4 separate regions of the Homo sapiens genome follow, and all the other regions are linked to region 1. Evidence: promoter capture Hi-C in human tissues and cell types (Jung and others, 2019). All regions are on one chromosome and are shown on one strand. The core of a region is centred on a gene start or on the middle of the fragment in contact, and the rest is flanking DNA. Distances in the headings are between cores, read along the strand shown.

Evidence for each region. Contacts are between HindIII fragments. The study calls those that stand out against the background at their distance.
Region 2: a contact is called between a fragment that was not itself captured here and the fragment with the promoter of MFHAS1 in region 1, in 1 of the 25 tissues and cell types used here (lymphoblastoid cells).
Region 3: a fragment that was not itself captured here is called in contact with the fragment with the promoter of MFHAS1 in region 1 in 2 of the 25 tissues and cell types used here (dorsolateral prefrontal cortex and mesendoderm cells).
Region 4: a contact is called between a fragment that was not itself captured here and the fragment with the promoter of MFHAS1 in region 1, in 2 of the 25 tissues and cell types used here (bladder and thymus).

The regions. Positions count from the first base shown.
Region 1 is chr8:8,892,263-8,894,962 of GRCh38, reverse strand. MFHAS1 (multifunctional ROCO family signaling regulator 1) reads left to right here and starts at 1,333. Exons shown (of 3, transcript NM_004225.3): 1 at 1,333-2,700. The coding sequence starts at 1,905. RefSeq lists silencers at 1,188-1,437, 1,448-1,727, 1,838-2,107 and an enhancer at 1,952-2,700. The HindIII fragment of the contact is 6,822 bases long and covers 1-2,700 here.
Region 2 is chr8:8,428,298-8,431,111 of GRCh38, reverse strand. No RefSeq gene overlaps it. Among named protein-coding and RNA genes, the nearest start is that of LINC02949, 5.1 kb to the right of the region's middle. The HindIII fragment of the contact is 5,506 bases long and covers 1-2,814 here.
Region 3 is chr8:8,556,410-8,559,109 of GRCh38, reverse strand. No RefSeq gene overlaps it. Among named protein-coding and RNA genes, the nearest start is that of LINC02950, 96 kb to the right of the region's middle. The HindIII fragment of the contact is 4,839 bases long and covers 1-2,700 here.
Region 4 is chr8:8,534,829-8,537,528 of GRCh38, reverse strand. No RefSeq gene overlaps it. Among named protein-coding and RNA genes, the nearest start is that of LINC02950, 75 kb to the right of the region's middle. The HindIII fragment of the contact is 5,628 bases long and covers 1-2,700 here.

The DNA of each region.
Region 1 (2,700 bases), core at 84-2,583:
GAGAAATTATTGACTTAGCATAGATGTGAGCTCAAAGAAACATTTCCTAACAGCAATAAAAATAAGCATTAGAGTTGAACAATGGACTGTGACTGTTTCCCAAAATAGCTGTTTTCTTGAGTCCGCAGAACAACAGGTACTGTATTAATGGGGATACAGTATTTGTTTCACAGCGTTGTTGTGAAGATAAACGGGATACCCCAGATAAACAGCTTGTGTCCCCCCCATCTTAACAACCCTCCTTTAGGCTGGCGGGCCACCTGCTCAAAAGCCTTCCCCAGGGGGGTTAAAACCGTCTTTTAGTAGTTCTGGTACGGGTGGGCTGGGGGAGATCCTCTAAAGCCAGTGCGACCTTGACCCCAGCCAATGTCCAGGCTCTTGACACATCCAGAGAATGAGTTCAAGGACAACTCAGAAAATAGTGACAATATGCAGATTTATTGCAAAGGGAAAAGTACACACCCAGGAAAAGGGATTGTGGAGAGGGTCACTCACAACGGGGCTTGGGGCTGCTACCTTTATGGGTTTCTTTAACCAAGGGGTGAAATATTCATGAAAATTCCTGGAAAAGTGTGGAGATTTTTCGGGACTGTGGTGCCACCCATTTTTACTTCAAATATGGGTGTCCCCGGAATTGTCATGGCACTGGTGTGACTTAGGATGTTAAAGAGCGTATAATGGAGGCCTAGGAGAAACCTAGGTCAAATCCAGGACCACGTCGGGTCCAGCCGGTCTTAGCCAGCTTGGTACACACCCTGGTTTTCAGGGTCTTATCAGCCCATAGCCTCCAGTCAAGTGAAACTGCTGCCTGGTATTTTTTATTCTCCTCTGACCAGCCTGCATTACTCCTGTCCCATGTTCAACACGAAATAGGGCCTCAGGAAATATTTACCAAATGAATGAATGGTTGCCTGTTCTAATTTTGTTTAACCACACTCTTGTCCTAAGCTTCTATGATGATACCCAGGGCCCCCGAGTTGTGCCAGTTCCACTACGGCGTGGATGCAAGGCGAGCGGCAGGGGAGCAGGTAAAGGATGAGTAAGGGAAGCCGGCGGATCCGACGCATTAGAGAACAAGAAAAAGAAATCCTTAGAGACTGGGGGCCAACAAAGAGCCAGGCGCGGGCGAACCCACCAGGGGGGCCCCGGAGCCCCACATCCGCCGCTGGGACGACCTCCCCGCCCAGCATGGTCCGGGGCGCGGACCCGGCCCCGCGCCAGGCGCCCCCGGCCCCGCACCCGGCGCCCTCCGCAGCTCCCGCCCCCGGGGCGGTGCCGGGAAAACGCGGCGCCTCCGCCGGTCACGTGGGGGCCGCTCCGGCGGGCGGCGCTGCCGCTTCCCAATCGCGCCCTCCCAGCGCCGGGGACGCGGCGCCCGCGCTCCCGCCCGAGCCCGGGGAAACGGAGACAAGGAGGCGCCGCCGCCCCCTCCCCGCGGCTGCGCCCCAGCCCTGCGCCCGCAGCATGCCCGCCGCCGGGCCGAGCGCCGCCCTCCCCCAGGAGCTCGAGGAGGCGACGCCGCTGCCGGCCGCGGGACCGCGGCTGCGAGGGTAGCGGGGCCGGAGCCGGGCCCCCCGAGGCGCCGCGCGGCGGGCGGAGAGGGAGGAGGAGCAGGCATCCTCCGCGGCGCGCGGGCGGCGGCCCTGCTGCCCGGCGCGCCCATGGCCCGGCCGCAGGGAGAATGCAAGCTGCTCTCCACGCGCTCGGCGTCCCCCGGAGCCGCTCGCGTCGCCGCCGCCCCCTAGCCGCCAGCGCTCGGCCGCTGGCTGCGCTAGGACCCGCGGCCGCCGGCCGCCGAGCGCGGGAGGGCAGGCAGGGGCAGGAGCCGGAGGGCCCGGGGCGCGGCGCGGCATGTAGCTGCGGGCTCCCGCGTCCGCGTGAGGCTGTCGGCCCGGGGCCCCGCCATGGCTGGGATGGACAGTGGCAACCTGAAGACCGCGAGGCTGTGGCGGGACGCCGCCCTGCGTGCCAGGAAGCTGCGGAGCAACCTGCGCCAGCTCACGCTTACCGCCGCCGGGGCCTGCCCCGGGGCCGGGGCCGACGCGCTCGAGTCCCCCGCCTCCCCCCAGCTCGTGCTGCCGGCCAACCTCGGGGACATTGAGGCACTGAACCTGGGGAACAACGGCCTGGAGGAGGTACCCGAGGGGCTGGGGTCGGCGCTGGGCAGCCTGCGCGTCCTGGTCCTGCGCAGGAACCGCTTCGCCCGGCTGCCCCCGGCGGTGGCCGAGCTCGGCCACCACCTCACCGAGCTGGACGTGAGCCACAACCGGCTGACCGCCCTGGGCGCGGAGGTGGTGAGTGCTCTGAGGGAGCTGCGGAAGCTCAACCTCAGCCACAACCAGCTGCCCGCCCTGCCCGCCCAGCTGGGCGCTCTCGCTCACCTGGAGGAGCTGGATGTCAGCTTTAACCGGCTGGCGCACCTGCCTGACTCCCTCTCCTGCCTCTCCCGCCTGCGCACCCTGGACGTGGATCACAACCAGCTCACTGCCTTCCCCCGGCAGCTGCTGCAGCTGGTGGCCCTGGAGGAGCTGGACGTGTCCAGCAACCGGCTGCGGGGCCTGCCTGAGGATATCAGTGCCCTGCGTGCCCTCAAGATCCTCTGGCTGAGTGGGGCCGAGCTTGGCACGCTGCCCGCCGGCTTCTGCGAGCTGGCCAGTTTGGAGAGCCTCATGCTAGACAACAACGGGCTGCAGGCTCTGC
Region 2 (2,814 bases), core at 293-2,792, 460 kb after region 1:
TGCCTATAGCTCAATGCAACTGCTATTTCTCAAAATATTTCTAGAGAATTATTTTTGAATTGCATTTAAAATTGAGTTAGGAGCCACCCCAGAAAAGCAGTCTTATTACAATATACTTTAACCTTTTTAAAGCTCATATATCTTTTTGAAATATTAAAGGAAAAAACAAGACCCTCAGCTACTCCCTATCCCAAACCTCATATCACTTATATCATATAAGAAGGCTTAGAATTTTTTTTTTTTTTTTTTTTTTTTTTTGAGACGGAATCTCACTCTGTCTCCCAGACTGGAGTGCAATGGTGTAATCTCGGCTCACTGCAACTTCCCCCTCCCTGATTCAAGCGATTCTCCTGCCTCAGCCTCCGGAGTAGCTGGGACTACAGGTGCCCGCCACCACGCCCGGCTAATTTTTTTTGTGTGTAATTTTAGTAGAGACGTGGCTTCACCGTGTTAGCCAGGATGGTCTGGTGCCCAGCCTTCAGACAGATTCTTAAGGACTTTTTATATTGCTATTCTGAAATGGACAATAGCTTTTGTATACTTAAAATCCAATAGATTAATTTTAAAAAATTAAATTAAATTTTAAAAATTAATTAAAAATTAACTTAAAAAATTAATCTTAATACTCATATCTATGAGTTACAGTTTTTAAACATAAAGCTTGTTCGGGCCCGGCGCAGTGGCTCACGCCTGTAATCCCAGCACTTTGGGAGGCTGAGGCGGGTGGATCAGCAGGTCAGGAGATTGAGACCATCCTAGCTAACACGGTGAAATCCCATCTCTACTAAAAATACAAAAAATTAGCCAGGCGTGGTGACAGGTGCCTGTAGTGTGAGCTACTCAGGAGGCTGAGGCAGGAGAATGGCATGAACCCGGGAGGTGGAGCTTGCAGTGAACTGAGATTGCGCCACTGCACTCCAGCCTGGGCGACAGAGCAAGACTCTGTCTCAAATAAATAAATAAATAAATATTGTTCTTGTGTTACATGTCATTGTAGATTAGAATCACATGTACTTGGCCAGGCATGGTGGCTTGTGTCTGTAATCCCAGCCCTTTGGGAGGCTGAAGTGGGCAGATCACCTGAGGTCAGGAGTTCGAGACCAACCTGGCCAACATGGTGAAACCCCGTCTCTAATAACAATACAAAAATTAGATGGGCGTGGTGACAGGTGCCTGTAGTCCCAGCTACTCTGGAGGCTGAGGCAGGAGAATCGCTTGAACCCGGGAGGCGGAGGTTGAAGTGAGCCCAGATCTTGCCGCTGCACTCCAGCCTGGGTGACAAGAGTGAGACTCTGTCTCAAAAAAATAAAAAAGAATCACCTGTACTTAGAGAGCAACATCTGATCCCAAGTTTAGTAGTGACACAGTGTATAAATCTGGGGACTTGAGAGACAGGCCATGGGAGGACATTTGTACTTAGAGAACATCAGTATATAAGCAAGTTGTTATACAAGTAAGTGTGTGTGTATGCAATCGCGCGCGCGTGTGTGTGTGTGTGTGTGTGTGTGTGTGTTTTGGGTTGGTGAGTGAGTCAGGCAAAGCATATATTGAAACTTACTTCAAAGACACTTTTGAAGGCTGACCACTATTATGTAAACAATGAAAAGAATTTGACTGATCAAAGAGAGAAGTTTGTAAATGACCTCTGCCATGCATGCATCTTGAATATTTGTTTTCACTTACACAAAGTCTGTATCCTGTCAAAGTCATGGTTAAAATATTTGAAGTTTGAACAGGCATGGGTAATTGTGGGAGATAACTTGTGGGGGATAATTTATGATAGGAAAATCATAAATTCACATGAGGAAGAGGAAACTACCTCATCTGTCCTATCCTAGGAAAGTCTGATGATGATGATGGTAATGATGACAGTGACGATAAAAATGATGTTGTTGGTGATATTGATGATAGTGGTAATGGTGATGATGGCTGTGGTAGTATTGATGATGATGGTGTTAATCATGTTTCTGCTGGCTATGGTTGTGGTTGTCAAATTGTTCCTTACAGGGGCTGATTCTTCAGATTTTTATAGCAACTTTGTCCCAGTTGGCTCCACTGAACCAAACAGGACTTCCTGAAGTTTCATATTATCTCAGAAGCAAAAACACAGAAAAAGAGTCATCTTTGTTTTAAAAGAGTGGAAGAAAATGTACCAAAGTGAGAGACCATCTATCTTATCAGAAATAGTATTTTTATTCCATAGCGAACCTGGGATCTGAGCCTTAATTCCCAGGCAGCTCTCCAGCCATACGAATTCACTGTGACATTCAGTGGTGTTCTGAAGCTTTGTTGTATTCTGGTAAAGGTTACAAAAATATCCATTTTGAAGTGCCAATGTGAGTTTCTCTAGAAATACAATTTTTAGCAGCATCAGGATTAATATGAACATTTCAGAAGTTAAACTGATTGTTTAAAAAAAAAAAAAAGAGTAAGCCAAGCATGATGGCTCATGCCTGTAATTGCAGCACTTTGGAAGGCACAGGTGGGTGAATTGCTTGAGTCCAGAAGTTTGAGAACAGCCTGGCCAACATGGGGAAACTCCATCTCTACAAAAAATACAAATATTAGCCAGGCATGATGGTGTGTGCCTGTAGTCCCAGCTACTCAGGATGTGAGGTGGGAGGATCTCTTGAGCCCGGGAGGTGCAGGTTGCAGTGAGCCACGATCGTGCTGCTGCATTCCAGCTTGAGTGATGGAGCGAGACCCTGCCTCAACAACAACAACAACAAAAAAAAAAAAAAAAAAGAGAGAGAGAGAGAAAAGAAAGAGTAAACAGCAAGATATTATACAATTCTGAGGAACTCGGGTTCAAAT
Region 3 (2,700 bases), core at 123-2,622, 340 kb after region 1:
TTTTTTTTTTTTTTTTTTTGAGACAAAGTCTCACTCTGTCACCCAGGCTGGAGTGCAGTGATGCAATCTTGGCTCACTGCAACCTCTGCCTCCTGGGTTCAAGCAATTCTCCTGCCTCAGCCTCCTGAGTAGCTGGGACTACAGGCACGTGCCACCACGCCCAGCTAATTTTTATATTTTTAGTAGAGACAGGGTTTCACCATGTTGGCCAGGCTGGTTTCAAACTCCTGACCTCAGGTGATCTGCCCACCTCAGGTGTCCTTTGAAGCAGAGTTTTTAATTGTGATAAAAGGTCTCATTTATCTATTGTTTCTTTTGCATTTGTGGTTTTTGGTGTCACATCTAAGAAATCATTGCCTAATCCAAGGCCATGAAGACTTACCCCTATGTTTTCTTCTAGGAGAGTTATAGTCTTTGCTCCTCCATTTATGTGTTTGATTCATTTTGAGTTCATTTTTGTAGATGGTGTGAGTTAGGGATCCAACTTGATTCTATTGCTTGTGGTTATCTAATTGTCTCAGCACCATTTGTTGAAATGACTATCCTTTCCCCATTGAATGGTCTTGGTGGCACTCTTGTCAAAAATCAATTGAACACAGATGTATGATTTTATTTCTGGGCTCTCAGTTCCATTCCATTGATCTGTATGTCTATCCTTATGTCAATACCACACTGTTTTGATTATTATAGCTTCTTGATTGTTTTCATATTTGGGGGAGAAACTAAAAAAGGAACTTTTTACACTAGGGAGATTGAACTGCAAGAATTGTAAGAATACAGATGCTAAGAATACACACACAATGCTACCTATCTGATTGAGGGTAAAAATAAGGAGGTGAAAACCCTGTTTGCGTCTGAAGAAACACATAATCTGCTCTATTTAGAATAATTTTATGTTGCTGAAGAGAATACTTTGTGTTAAAATACTTTATTACAAAGAAATTTCCATTAAAAATAAAATCTTGTACTTTTTTTGAAAATTTCGTTCAAAATCTCATGACTCAAGCACAATTATTCTAATTTCTCCATGGCTTCCTTCTAGTCTTTAGTTACATTTTACATATTTTTATGCATTTTAATCATATTATATGTAGACTTTTCCTTCTTTTTAAACTTAGCATTGCTATAAACAATTTTATGCTCATATGGTTTTCATATATTAATAGGTACTTAAAATCATATTAATTTACATATCACAAGTTACTTAGCCAATTTATTATTTTATATTGTTTTTCTCACAAACTTTTTTTGCTTTTAAAAATAATAAAAGCCTTGTGCTTATGGTTTGTTTTTCTATTTTTGAAGTACTTCCTTAGGATAAATTACTATCATTATAATTAGTCAAATGGGAAGAATATTTTCACTTATTGTAGATTCTTCTCTAAAACTATGCTATCAATTTAAACTGTTGACAGCAATGTCTGATGGGTCAGTTCCTGGGTAGTCTTGCTGATATTTGGATTTAGTAGGTTTTCTTTCTGTTAACCCATCTGATAATATAAAGTGATTATTTTAATTTTTATCTTATAATTTCTAGCCAGCTTAAATACTTTTTATGCTTATCATCTTTATTTTCTTTTACATGCTTTATTGAGAATAGAGTATTTTAAAATGTTTTCTAACTATTAAAGTAATATTTGTTGAATATAGAAAAGCATGAAAAAAAAAGCCATCTATAATCCCACCATTGAGAAAGAACTAAGCTGAGTATCTTCAGAAATTGGAAGAATGTTGTATTCATAATTTGATTTTTTTTCCAATAACATCATTTGCCCATAGCTGACATATGGTATATAAATTTTACAGTATATTTTATTTACTTCTAAAATGAGTATGACAAAGTGAAAGTAGAGTGCTCACATCTGAGTTTCCAGAAAGTTCTGTGCTGGAGTTCCTGGTATGACCGACAGTGTCTGGGTCGAATTGTAAAGATCTCTGCCTTGGGACAGCTGACTCTCAAGGAAGTGGCAAAGCACAGCCTGCTAAGAACCTTGCTAATAACACACTGACGTGCTTCTCATATCTGTATTCCAAGGCCCTTCAGGAAAGGCTAGAGAGCACTACCTGTAGTTTGGCAGAGGGTCCAGTTTTTCTGCTGATCTTTTACATTTCTTAACATCAGTTTATCCTCTTTGATCTGCCCCAATTGATTCAGACTTTTAAAAGTAGATTAATCAGTGACTAGGCAGGGTGCAGTGGCTCACACCTGCAATCCCAGCACTTTGAGAGGCTGAGGCGGGCAGATTTCTTGAGCCCCGGAGTTCGAGACCAGCCTGGGCAACATAGTGAAACTCCATCTCTACAAAAAGTACAAAAAATTAGCTGGGCATAATGGGGCACACCTGTACTCCCAGCTACTTGGGAAGCTGAGGTGGGAGGATTCATCTGTGCCCAGAAGGTAGAGGCTGCAGTAAGCAATGATCGCACCACTTCACTCCAGCCTGGGCAACAAAAGAGACCCTATCTCTAAATAAGTAAATAAATAAATAAATAAATAAATAAATAAATACTTAATATTTGGAGTTTGCCATAAAGCATTTTTGGTTTGATGACTAAATATTTCCATAACTGTCACAATGAACTCAACAGCTGACTCATACTTTAAAGATTAATAAAAAGAGAAACTTTTGACCTCTATTTGATGCTTGGGGTTTCATTAAACTTATGCATCTATCCCAGCCATCATTTTTCTTTATTTTG
Region 4 (2,700 bases), core at 73-2,572, 360 kb after region 1:
GGCAGAAGGAGGAGGATGGATGCTGAATCAGAAAGAAGAGGCAGAAAGTGTAAAACCAGAGGGCGTGGGAAGCATGGCCTGGGGATGTTTTGGGAACAGGATTGAGACTGGGCACACCTTTCTTATGGGAGATGGCTTCAGTTGTGTGGTTGCTTAGGCCCGAAGCAATGAAACAGAAATAAACCAAGTAAAGAAAATAGGCTCTTTTTTTTTTTTTTTTTTTTTTTTTTTTTTTTTTTTTTTGAGATGGAGTCTTGCTTCATTGCCCAGGCTAGAGTGCAGTGACAAGATCTTGGCTCACTGCAACCTCCACCTCTGGGGTTCAAGTGATTCTCCTGTCTCAGCCTCTTGAGTAGCTGGAATTACAAGCATGTATCATCATGCCTGGCTAATTTTTGTATTTTTATTAGAGACAGGGTTTCACCATGTTGGCCAGGCTGGTCTTGAACTCCCGACCTCAGGTCATCCGCCCGCCTCGGCCTCCCCAAGTGCTGGGATTACAGGCGTGAGCCACTGCACCCAGCTTGCAAATAGGCTCTTAAAGCCTCAATTTCCTCATCTGTGAGATACAAGTAATATCTTTGTCATATGGCTGTTAGGATTAAATAGAGTGATTGTCTCCAGTGTTTCCATTTATAAAGTTCCCATCATCCTAGTCGTATGGAGTGAGAGAATATAGGTTATGCAGATGTGGGAGCCATTTATGTCCTTTTTAGAAGTTTCATGTAATATAGGGCAGGAGGTCTTAGGTCACAGACATAGGAATCAGCTATGTGTGTGTGTGTGTGTGTGTGTGTGTGTGTGTGTGTGTGTGTGTGTGTGTTCATACATTTGTGTCTAATCCTTAGCCAAATTAACCTCACCTTCTAATGCTGCTGGTTAAGGTTGTGAGGTTCCCCTTGCCTTTGGAATGTTCCCTGGTTCCTCTCTCCCTCTCCTCTAAAACTGTGAGCTGCTACAGCATAGGAAGTAGGGCTCCTCCCCCAGCACCCACTACCATGCACAAACAAAGAAAATGCTTCCTAAACACTCAGAGAATAAACAAAGAGGTGAAATCCAGTGTCTACAAGGAGATCCACTCAAAGGTCTAATGGTCAAACATAGGATTTTCCCTGAAATGTACATTTTGGTGTCTTCTGAGGTTATTGTGCCTTTTTCCTTGCTCATCTTTTCCATTTGAAAAATTGTCATCGTGTTTCCCTAAATAGACTTAGGACATCAAAGTTGGGGCGACAAATTAGAAATGTTGCAGGGCCAGGGATGTAGTGGCTCATACCTGTGATCCCAGTGGTTTGGGAGGCCAAGGTGGGAGGATCGCTTGAAGCCAGGAGTTCCAGACTAGCCTGGGCAACAAAGCAAGACCCTGTCTCTACAAATACAATACAGTACAGTACAGTACAATACAATACAATACAATACAATACAATACAATACAATACAATACAATACAATACAATACAGTACATAAAATAAAATAAAATAAAATAAAATCCAGGCATGGTGATACATACATGTAATCCCAGCTGCTCAGGAGGCTGAGGCAGGAGGATGACCTGAGCCCAGGAGTTCGAGGCTGCAGTGAGCTATGATCGAGCCACTGCACTCCAGTGTGGGTGACAAAGTGAGACCCTGTTTCAAAAAAAGAAAAAAATGAATTGTTGCTGGGTCTTAAGTTAGAAGTTAATGTTTGAGACCTGTTATAGACCTGGGAGAATGAGGTGCAGTGGGGAGAATCAAGCTTTAGAGTCTGAATCCCAGATCTGCCATTTACTGGCTATGAGACACTCAACAAATCACTTAATCCAGCTGTTCCTCAATTGCCTCATCTCTAAAATGGGAATAAGATTTGTCTCATCAAGTGGTTGAGGTTAAATGGGGGCCCAAGGTAAGCTTTCAGGATCACTCTGTTTAAAATAGGAAAGCTCGTCCCCACCCCAGTCTCTTTTTCCATTTTACTTTTCTACACTGCACTTATCCCTTTGTGATATACTATGTTATTTATTTATTTTGTTCATTGTCTGTCTCTCTCTACTCATGTGTTAAGTTCCATGAGGCTAGAAATGGACCTAATTTGAGAAGAGGAAGTATTTTGGGACCAAGCCTGATGGGAATTCTGCTGCCTAGATCCTGAGTCCTGGTATCTCTACCCCGCACGTGAAGGACTGGGTCATGTCAGATTCCAGGGGTCACCCAGTCCTTCTAGAATGTGGTTCTCAAAGAGTAGTTCATAGATACCCCCAATATGGTCTGGTTCTGTGTCCCCACCCAAATGTCACCTTGAATTGTAAGAACCCCCGCACGTTGTGGGAGGGACCCAGTGGAAGGGAATGGAATCATAGGGGCAGGCTTTTCCCATGCTGTTCTCGTGATAGTGAATAAGTCTCAAGAGATCTGGTGGTTTTAGAAAGGTGAGCTCCCCGGCACATGCCCTTATCTGCCACCATGTAAGATGTGCCTTTGCTCCTCCTCCACTTTCCACCATGATTGTGAAGCCTCCCCAGCCATGTGAAACTGTGAGTCCATTAAACCTCTTTCCTTTACAAATTACCCAGTATGGGGTATGTCTTTGTTAGCAGCATGAGAACAGACTAATACACCCCCCTACCACCACCAGGGATCTTTGCAATCATTTCAGTGGCTCCACGAAGTCAAAACTATCTCTCTAACAATATGAAGGTCCTGTTTGCTTTTTCACTGTAT